2 separate regions of the Homo sapiens genome follow, and region 2 is linked to region 1. The links are contacts of gene promoters, found by promoter capture Hi-C in human tissues and cell types (Jung and others, 2019). All regions are on one chromosome and are shown on one strand. The core of a region is centred on a gene start or on the middle of the fragment in contact, and the rest is flanking DNA. Distances in the headings are between cores, read along the strand shown. Region 1 holds the start of CBFA2T3 (CBFA2/RUNX1 partner transcriptional co-repressor 3). Region 2 has its middle 43 kb from the start of ACSF3.

Evidence for each region. The method cuts DNA at HindIII sites, captures the fragments that hold promoters and counts their contacts. A contact is called where the count stands out against the background at its distance.
Region 2: a contact is called between a fragment that was not itself captured here and the fragment with the promoter of CBFA2T3 in region 1, in 2 of the 25 tissues and cell types used here (lymphoblastoid cells and spleen).

The regions. Positions count from the first base shown.
Region 1 is chr16:88,973,750-88,978,835 of GRCh38, forward strand. It overlaps CBFA2T3 (CBFA2/RUNX1 partner transcriptional co-repressor 3), which reads right to left and starts at 3,458. Exons shown (of 12, transcript NM_005187.6): 1 at 2,908-3,458. The coding sequence starts at 3,058. RefSeq lists enhancers at 1,583-2,127, 1,780-1,989, 3,830-3,879. The HindIII fragment of the contact is 13,654 bases long and covers 1-5,086 here.
Region 2 is chr16:89,048,632-89,053,713 of GRCh38, forward strand. No RefSeq gene overlaps it. Among named protein-coding and RNA genes, the nearest start is that of ACSF3, 43 kb to the right of the region's middle. The HindIII fragment of the contact is 8,249 bases long and covers 1-5,082 here.

The sequences.
Region 1 (5,086 bases), core at 2,208-4,707:
GTCGGGTAGAGGGAGCCCAGGCTGACCGCAGGCTCTGGACGTGACCCCTTTGCCAGGTGGGCTCCAGCCAGGGCTCAAGCTTCCTGCACGGATGGTGCCTTCACAGCATCTGCCCAGTCCCCATAACATCTGCCCGCCTTGCCCGGTCCCCATAACATCTCCCGCCTTGCCCGGTCCCCATAACACCCGCCCGCCTTTGCCTGCACCCCTCCACTGATAGTGCTCACCACCTCCCCGAGATCCCACGTCGTCCCTCTAAGGTGACACCAGGCAGGCCTGACTCAGTTTCTCCCCCATGGAGGTCCCAGCACATGGCACTGAAACTTCTCTGCCTCAGCCTACACTTGCCAGGTGGATTTCAAAATCTCTGTCCCTGGCACCCTCCTCGGGTGACCTGGTTCCCATCCCTCTCTCCTGAGGCAGTCAGGTCACCTTTCTGACCTCCGCCTCTTCTTCTGCAAAGTGGGCTTGGGGGGACAAGGCGGTGAGAGCCTGCACAGCTCCGAGCACACACAGCGGGCGCCTCGTAAACCCAGCACCGCAAGCACCGTCTTCAGGGGTTCCTTCTGCACCACTGGGCCCAGGGGTCAGTGAGGATCCAGACCCTCCGCGTGAGGGGGCTGGTGAAGGAGCCCAGGGAAGGGGTCCCGGCCCCCAGACGGCGGCGTGTGCTCTGTGGCCATCTTCTGATTGCTTACACCTCAGCCCCCAGGACGCTGTCAGAGGAGACGAGGGGCTGAGGTCCTCCCACCCCCTGCACAGCACACAGACGTCTCTCCTGCCCGCCACCAAACGCGCAGCAACACAGCCCTGCTCAGTACGCCTTTGGTCTAAAGACAGGAAGGTTCTTCTACTTCAGCTTTTAGAAATATTACTGTTCTCCCCAGAGTTTAAAGCCAATCGGCCTGTTTTCAGGCCTCAAAGGTTTTAGGAACTCTTGGGAGGCCTGTGTGCCTGACAGCCACACAGTGGGGCTGAGGTGCCCTCAGGTCTGTCCAGGACCCCCCGCAGTTCCCATGCCCCCCATGGCCCCCGCTCCTCCAGCCAGGCGAGGCTTGATGCCGAGGCTTTCTGGCATCACAAGGCTCCCACATCTGTCCCCTGGGGGCCTTGGGAGGCCCCTGGGGTACAGGATGAGAAGCCCCAAGTGCTGGTATTCACATGTAACTCTGCTGCCTGATGTGGCTAAGGCTGTCCCATGGGTACCCTGGAATAGGGCCGGGTGGTTGCACGGACAGAAGCCCCTAGAAGCCAGGGGCAGGACCCCGCACCCAAGTGAGACCCTGCTCCCTCCTCACATTGCAGCCCCTAAGCAGGGGCTCCCTGGGGGTGGGCACAGTGGCTGGGTACTCTGTGTTAGAGGCCACCCTGGCCCTCTGCTCCTGACCTGCAGCCATGTCAGAGGTCCACCCTGACCCTCTCTGCTCCACATCTTTAGCCATGTCAGAGGTCCACCCTGACCCTCTGCTCCTCACCTGCAGCCATGTCAGAGGCCCGCCCTGACCCTCTGTTTCATGCCTCTAGCCAGCAGCCCCTCGCATGACTCAGGCACGGGGCCACCTCTTGGCCCTAACCTCCTTCCACGGTAGACACCCCCGTCCTTCCACAGTAGACGCCCCCATCCTAACAAAGCGGCGGCTCTCCATGCGCCTCAGAGCCCGTCTCTCTCCGCGCCGGTGAGAACCTGCTCTCACGCGGGGAGCAGGTCGGAAGGGTCTGAACCATGAGGAAACTGAGGCCCAGGGAGGAAGCACCCGGCCCAAGGCCACTCAGCGCCAGGGGATAGACAGGGCCGCTCCAGAGAGGACGGGATGGCAGATGCCAGGGCCAGTGGGCTGGTGCTGCCTTGAAGGTGGCTCTGAGTCACCCATTCGGGAGAAACGAACAGTAGCACTGGCTGTGGTGAGGTCCGGCCTTTGCATTCCGGGCACCCGGGGTTGGGAAGTTCCTGCTCACATCTGGGGCCCTTGTGGGGGATGGCCCTGGGGCCCCACGGGCAGCTGCAGGTGGGAACAGCCTCAGGCAGCCGCCGCCAGGACCTGCTCAGGGAATGTGGTCTCCAGAGATGGGGACACCCCTCGGTCCCGGGTTCTGTGTGTGAGTGTCAGGGGTGCAGTCAGACCTTGGACCTGACGGCCTCAGTGAGAGCCCCGCGAGACGGGAGACTGTGAGCTCCTGAAGGTTCCGACGGCTGCTGGGAGTGTGGCCACGAGGGCCACTGGGAATCGGGGCCACCAGCCTGCAGCTGCAGCCCCCAGCGTCCGGGGATCCTTGTCCTGGGACTTCGCAGGCTCGGGTGGGGGGTATCAGCAATAGCTGGCGTCCTGCTGGACTGGACCCCTCCCCAGAGCCCGAAGCCCCCAGAAGGGCAGGCCCAGGTTCCCCGTAAACCCCCACTGCCCTGGCTGGAATCGTTCCTCGGACAGGGGCCCAGGGTTGGGTCCATTTCCTCCTCACCGGGGTCTTGGGCCAGTGCCCTCCCCTCTGGCCTCAGTTTCCTCATCCAACCTGCTGTGAGGTGTCACACCCGGAGGGCATCCCAGGAGGAGGAGGGCTCTCTTTCTAGGACCCCCCCATCACTTCCCGGCTGCGGCCCTCCCACCCCCAGGAGAACACAGCCCACCCTCCTAGACGGGGCTGAGCAGCCCGGCCTCCAGCATCTGCCTCTGGGTGGGGCTGGGGCACCTGGCTGGCACCTGCCAAACCCTCACCAGCCCACCTGCCCCAGCTGTGCAGGACCTGCCTGTGGGGTGGCCCTGTTGATATCTGAGGTGAGTCAACACGGCCATCCGTGCCGGCACTGTCAACTAAGCTGGGCAGGCCCCGCGAAGCTCTAAGGAGTCACAGCCCCGGCACCGGCTGCCGCTCTCTGCCCCCACCCCACCACCTTCCCCTCGAGCCTCTTACCTGGGCCGCCCTTCCTGGGACCCCGGGGTGCGGAGCAGCCGGCAGATGCCAGGAGGCCGCTCTCCAGCACAGGGTGCGTCTGGGACATGGAGCCACAGGTGGATCCCGAGGCTGAACTGGCTGCCCTGTCCCTCAGTCTTGAAGCCGGCATGAGGAGGGCCACCCTCAGGGGCCAACCTGGAGCCCAGGACAGGCCTCTACCAGGACTGCCTTTCCCGACCTCCTGCAGCCTTGAGGGAAAGAGGAGGGGCTGGGCCAGCTGGGGCGTCCTGGAGTTGGGCCTCTGTCCCTGGAAAGCCGAGGCCCTCCCGGCCACCAACTGGGTGTCCTCTGCCCTGGGGAGGGGGTGGGAGCCCTGGGGCTCATGTGACGCGGGGCGGGCCTGGGGCTGCAGGCTGGGGAAGGTCTCCCTGCAGCCTGCGGGTGAGGCAGCCAGCTGTGTCCCCGTGATAATGCCGGGGCCGGAGGCCTGCAGCTGCGCCCGCCACTTCCCTGACAGGAACCATCTGGGGCCCTGCCCTGCGCGGCCTTCCCTCGGGCCATTCCGGTTTGACCTTCCAACAACTTCCTCCTCCCAGGCAGCTCTGGTGACGTCCCACCCACCCTGAGCCCTACAGCGTGGCCACTGGGCATGTGTTTCCTCGGCCCCAGGGCAGGTGTGCAGGCCTGAGGGCAGCTCCATCCTGGCCCAGAGCCCTTGGCCTGTCCCGCCCACCCATCTTCCCCCCAGGGCTTGGCCCTTCCTTCAGCCTGGGGTATCTGGGGGTGTCCTCCCTCTCCGCTAGCCCTCAGTCAGCCGAGCTTTCCCCAGCACCCCTTTTAGTTTGCCCCCGCTCCAGGGGCCACCCTGCCCGTGTTCCTGTGTCTGCTGACTGTGCCCTTGAGCAAGGCGGGGCCTCTGACCAGCCTCTCCTCAGCCCCTGCTCCGGGGTTCTTGGGCACCTGACCTGTCCTCAAAGTACCTCCCGCCTGCTGGGAAGGAAACCCTCTCTCTCTGCTTGGCCTCGTGCACAGGGCTCCTGGCCCTCTGTGGAGACAGCAGGGCTCCCCCACTCTCCGGGGGTGCCTCAGAAAGACCCTCACCCCACGCCCCAGCGGCCGCCTCCGGTGAGCAGCCTGGAGTTTGCGGGGGTCGGGGGTAGGTGGCTTCTCCAGTCTGGGAAATTCCAGAAGCCACCTCAGAGCACTCTTGGGACTACTTAGACCCTAGGGAGAGTCCTAGGACCCCTTTCTAGCGGCCGTTGGGCTGAGAGAGTGAGGCACATCCCAGATGCTGGGAAAAAAAGCCACTTTCTAAAGCTCCCTGACAACTGTCAGAGGGCAGGAGCTTCCTGGGAGGGGACAGTGACCCTTCGGCCCTGCAGCCCTGGTTCGGTGGCTTTTCTGATGCCATGGCTGGAGGTTTCCCGGCCTCAGACAGGCCAGAGGTGTGGAGCCCGCAGACCCAGGGCCGGCTCACGGGCATCTGTGCTATTTTGATTTGATTTGATTTGAGTTTTAGGTCACGTTTGCACGCAGTTAATAATTCAAGCCGTGCAGGAGTAAAAGCCGACTCCTTCCCCGCAGGGTCTCCAGGTGTCCCGGGTCTCCCTGTCCCAATAGTCGAGTGTCTTTCTCGAGTTGGTGACAACAAGCTGCATGCCAGCGTGTGTGTCCAGCTTACAGTGGGGATGTGTTTGTTCCTGCTGGGGAACTTCCCAGACGCCAGGCCCACCCGGGGCCTCCCCTGCCCTGGGTGGTCGGCCGTTCTGCCCCCAGGACTGAGGCTGGAGGGGACATTCCTGCCAGCCCGGGGCCCATCCCCTGGTGCCATCATTCGGTCCCCACGTCCCCTGCTGTTCCCTGTGCTCTGGCTCAGGGTGGGATTCACAGTGAGGGTCCTGGGGGCCCTGACCCTCCTGGTTTCCTCATTTGTGCAGGGTGCACGATCCTAACGGCGTCAGCTCCTACAGCGTTTCCGGGAGTGGAGACAGCAGAGGCTCTGAGCCGCCACATGGGCCGGGGCCACCGTGAGCATGTGGCTGGGGTTGGTCTGTGTCAGTGCCTATTCCCCAGCTGTGTGCAGTGAGAGTCTCAGAGTCGGGGAACTGAGGGTCTCAGGGGGCACAGCCCCCACTCCGTGAGGCAGCAGGACAGCACCCTGGGTGAGGGTGGTGGCTCCCCCCACCCGGGGTAGGAG
Region 2 (5,082 bases), core at 676-3,175, 73 kb after region 1:
GGAAGCAACATGGCCTCTCTGAACTTCTGTCTCCCGAAATGTGGAGGCTGAGACTGTCTCTGTGAATGGTAGGGTAACTGTTTCCCTGCCACTGTAGGTGACAGTTAAGGTCGAGATGACCGCTAAAGACAAAGGCTTGACCCAGAGGCCAGGAGCAAGGGGGCGCGGGAATCACAGAGACTGGGGCAGCCCTAGATCCCCCGGGTAAGCCTTTTGGGCCCCTGCCTGCACAGCAGAGCAGAGCCCAGGGTGAGCCACGCAGGCGCGTGGAGAGGGCACCCCATGTGGGGCAGACTCCCGCTCAGAGGGGCCTCGCTGTGGCCACCACCTACAGACCAGAACCCGGGGCCGGGGTCTCATGGACCTCCTGACTGAGGAGACCTAGCAGAGCCAGACAGGGCCTGTGGACCGAGCAGAGGCTGGTGTGGACTCGGCTGGGGCCCGCTCCCTTCTCCTTTGACCTGGGGCACAAAGGTCCCCTCTGTGTAGGACTCACTGACTGGCCGCTTTCTACTCCTCACACAGTTCCCAGGCCCTGGAACTTTCCATCCGTCTTGTCCTTCTTGCCCTCACCACCCCTGCCCCGAGGTCCTCCGCCCACATGACCTGGTGGGGGCTGGCGTGAATACCTGGAGCGCAAGGCTGGGCAGGTTTTGCTCAACGTCATGAAGTCTGATCTCCACGCACAGAACCCGGCGTGGTGCCCACACCGTGTGCGTGAGCACAGGGACAGAGGTGTGGACGGATGACATCGGGTGACTGCAAGACCAGGCTGGCCACCATGCAGCTAGGGGCGAGGTGGACTCCAGGAGCCTGGTCTTGTTGGCATGGGGTAAGGAGCTCTTGGCCACCAAGGTACTGAAGTAAGAGGTAGGGAGAACCCCTCCTCCCTGGGCCTGTGAGGGTGGTCCTGGACACACAGGTACTGGCTCCCTCCTATGCGGGGTGGCGGCTGCCCTCCCTCCAGAGCCCAGCCCCAGGGCTGATGTGCCCGCACAGCTGGCACTGGGCTCTCGGGAGGCGGAGGCGGCAGGGAGGCCTCTGGGCTGGGGGAGGGCGCAGCAGCTGGACCCCTGACCCTTAGCAGAGCAAAGGGGAGGCGGAGGCCCAGCCACTGTCTCGGGAGGCACAGTGGGCGGCCGGGGTTGGCACAGGGGGAGGGGCTGGCCGGGCGCCCACTCCTTCCTAGGGTTTGTTGGGAGGCCAGCTCCCTCTCCATGGTGCGTGGAGCTGCAGAAGGCTTTATGTCAAGAGGCAGAAAGGCCCATGAATATTTCATTAGGGAAGCGATGTGAGGCTGCCAGGAACATCTGGCAGGAGTCTCTAGGGAGCTCCGAGCCGGCGCGGGAAGCAGGGACTGTGAAATTCGGAGGTGGAGGGAGGAGGGCTGCGGCAGGCAGCAGGGTCCCCTGTTCTGCTGTGGCCCAGCAAGGCTGCGCCCCTGACAAAGACCAGCCCTGTGCAGGGGCAGCTGTGGGTGAAACAGTGGGGGTGATGGCAGGGCCAACTTCCTCGATCCCGGGACAGCCCCCTGCCCACCCTTCCTACTCAGGCTCATGGCCGGGTCAGAGCAGCTGAGGGTGGGAAGGGGCCTGAGAGACAGTCTTGACCTGGGTCAGGCAGGGCTGGAATGGGGCGCCGCAGGGGCGGCACACACCCGGGGCATGGGACGGGGCTGTGGTTGGGGCCGGAGGGACCTGCACCTGTTGCTGGAAGCCCAGTGGGCAGCCAGGACCCCGGAAGCCCCTCAGTGGGTGAGGTGCCTGCTGGGTGTTCAGGCCTGCAGGTGAGGGGTGGGGGGTGAGAGGTTGGGGGGGGGACCTTGCCCAGCAGAGCGGGAGAAGCCCGGTCCCCAGTCTCCATCGTGGGGGCCGCAGCTTCCAGCTTGTCCCACCCTCCATGCCATTTTCAGGTCCCCTGGGGCCCTCGAGGGAGGGGCATCCACTCATGCCACTCTCCTCACGACTGAGGCCTGGGACCCACAGGTGCTGCCATCCCACCCAGTGCAGACCCAAGCCAGGGTTCCAGCCAGCACCTCGCCCATCTAAGTCTCCTCTGGGAATCCTGGAATGTGTTGTGCCCCGCCCCCCACCCCTGAGCCTGAGGGGCCAGGGCCACTGCTGTGTCCCCAAATCCCCGGAGCCCCCCTGCCTGAGTGTTTATCCCACTGACACCCATGCTGGGGCCCACCCTGCCCGCCCTCCACGCCTGTGCCATCTGAGGGCAGGGACTGCAGGGCCGGGTCCAGGCGGCCACTGGGGAAGCTCACCTGCGCCAAGGCCCACCCGGGATGACCCCACCGCCAGCACTTCCAAGGGGAAGCCCCCGTCATGAAGTGTTGGCCAGAGTCGGACTGAAGCCGCCACAGCAGCGCCTCCCGGGGCTTAAGGGGAAGAGGAGGCTGAGGATGGCCAGTCCCTGGGAGCCCCGCCGCACCTCCGCCCCCGGGATGTCTCAGGCTGGGCCTCTGCGGGGCTCTGAGCCTTTCCCTGAAGCTCTGAAGCACAGCCCAGACCCCTCGTGGGCCTTCAGTCCTGCCGGCTCTGTCCGACCCCAGGACCCTGTGTTCCCGACCTCTGCCCGACCCCTGGGCGTCTGGACCAGATGACCACTGCCCTCCCCCGCCCCCCCAGCCCTCCCTGCCCCTCAGCCCAGCCCGGGCTCCTGACCTTGGCCTCAGAGGCCCCTCCTAGCCCCTTCAAGGTGGAGGCTCCTGTGGGCCAGCCCGACTCTAGGCTCGGAGTTTTAAGGTCCATGGGCCTAACCTCCTCCCGGGCTTGGAGGAGCTGGGGGCCCAGCCACCCAGCCATCTTTACCCCAGCCCCTGCCCATGTGCTCTAATCGCCCCTCCAGTGCAACCTTCTTTCTGGGACTGGATTGGCTGCCCAGAGCATTGACTGGGACAGCGGCCAGCCCAGAGCCCCCGGCACAGCCAGGGCCCCTCTGTGCCATGCTCCTGCCAGGGCATGGGTCTGGTGCCAGCCTCTGCCAGCTGATGCTGTGGCTGGCAGCCTCTGCCATCCTGCTCGCCATGGATCACGCTGAGGGGCCACAGCCAGACGCCGGGACTAACACCCCCAGCCCTGCCAGCTCCACGCTGGCCCACCTGGGTGTCACCCACCTTTCTGCAGGTGAAAATCCCCTCTCCCACGGCCCCCAGCTCTTTCTGCCCAGCCTGTAATTGCTGGGAAGGGCAGCAGGACTTTGCCTTGGAGCTGCTGGGGAGTCCCTCACCTCGGGCTCCTTCCCACCCTCAGCAGCTGGGCTTGCTGCACCGTCACCCGCACTCCTGCTACCACACGTTTGGCGTCTGTCCCATCGTTCCGCACAGGCTCTGAGGCACCAAGCCAGGCTGGGAGCAAGAGGTGGGGCGGGGGCTCCGGGAAGACGAGAGGGAAGGCAGACGCACTCCCCTAGGAGCCCTGGGCCCCAAGATACAGCCCTGCAGCCCACGCATGGGGACAGCGACCAACATTTGGGGACCATCTGGGGGACTATACGGAACTGGGCAGAGGAGACCTGGCCCTGGGGGCCCACAGGGCATCAGGCGGAGGTGATGTGGCCGACCCCATGCTGGCCCCACCGAGCCCACCCAACCGAGCTCCCTGGAGGACGAAGGGCCAAGCACAGCTGGAAACAGGCCCCAGGGCGACGCTGGGGAAGCCGAGAGGAGCCGTCCTCTACCAGGCTGGCCCAGAACCCTGCGGGATTCAGCCCTCCCTGATGCTGCCACGCCCTGCAACCCAGAGCCAGGCCAAGATCCGGCCCCGGCCTCTGGCACCCGACGCAGATGCCAGGCGCCCACACCCCGCGAGCCCGCACGCTTTACCTGCGCTGCTGCTGCCAGGATCCACCTGCCCCAGCCGGCCCTCCCTGGCACCTCTGCCAACTGCTGCCGCCTCCCGCCACGGCTGCCAGCGATCGCGGTGGGTTTTGTGGATAGGCGTTTGGCCCCCTGCAGCCGCTGGCATACGTCGGTGGCACGCGTCCATCCTCACCGCAAGCTGCCCGCACCTTCCTCCTCCCCGTGCCTCCGGAGTCCCCAGTGCCAGCTCGGAGGGGAGTTGGCACGGATGGAGGCTGGCCAGCGTCTCGCGGCTGAGTATAGGCACGCTTCTTTTTTTTTTTTTTTTGTATTTTAAACACACACACATATTCTCACACGCACACACGCCAAGCCCCCACCCCTGGCAACACACATCCCTCCTGTCAGGAGCAGACATAGCCAAGAAAGCCCAGAGCAGGCGGGGGCAGAGAGAAGGGGCTTCGCCGAACGGAGGAACCTCAGCCCGCAGCTCTGTCCCTGCCCGTCCCCATTGCTCTCCCTCTTACGTAAACCACCAGGAAGAAGAAGAGGAAACACGGATCCACGTCACATCGAGGAGCCTCCTGATTGGGCGTACCTTCCCCTGCCAGGTCCCCTGGGACACACGCCAGCCCCGGCCACCCTGTCCCCTGCCCAGCCCCCCGCCTCCCCCAACGGTCTGCCACGGTGACCACACCCAGCTCCCTGCGTTTCTTCTCTTGAAAGGCGTTTATTCATCGAGTGCCAACCCTGGCTCCTGTGCGGACACGGCGGCTGGCAAGACAGCAGGGCTGGCCGAGAGTCTGGCGGGATGACCCCGGGGGTTGTTGCCTGCCATGGGCACAGTCCGGGAGTCCTGACCTACGTCTGAGGGCCAGAGGGCATCCCAACTGGACGTGAAAGGCCAGCCTCAGGCTGAGGACGGGGTGGAACAGAGCCTCGGCCAGGCTCCTGCTAGAGAGCGGTTGCCGGCACTTGCTCTGTGCTGACCCCGCTGTCTCTGTCGCCTCCCTTGCTTGAAGAGCCCCATGTTGGTTATGCATGACCTCTGACCCTGGAGACGCAGGTGACAACTCCCGGGCATCGGGGAGACGAGGTGTTGGGGACAGAGCCGGCGGTCATAGCCTCCAGCTCCTCTTCCTGCATGGAGTGACCTGGCGCCGCGAGGTGGAGCTGGTGTCCGAGCCCTGAGGATGAGGCTGCTCCCTCCGCAAGGTGGGCGAGGAGCCAGGAAGAGCCAAGGGAGTGGCCACCCTGCCCTGACGGCCACCAACGGC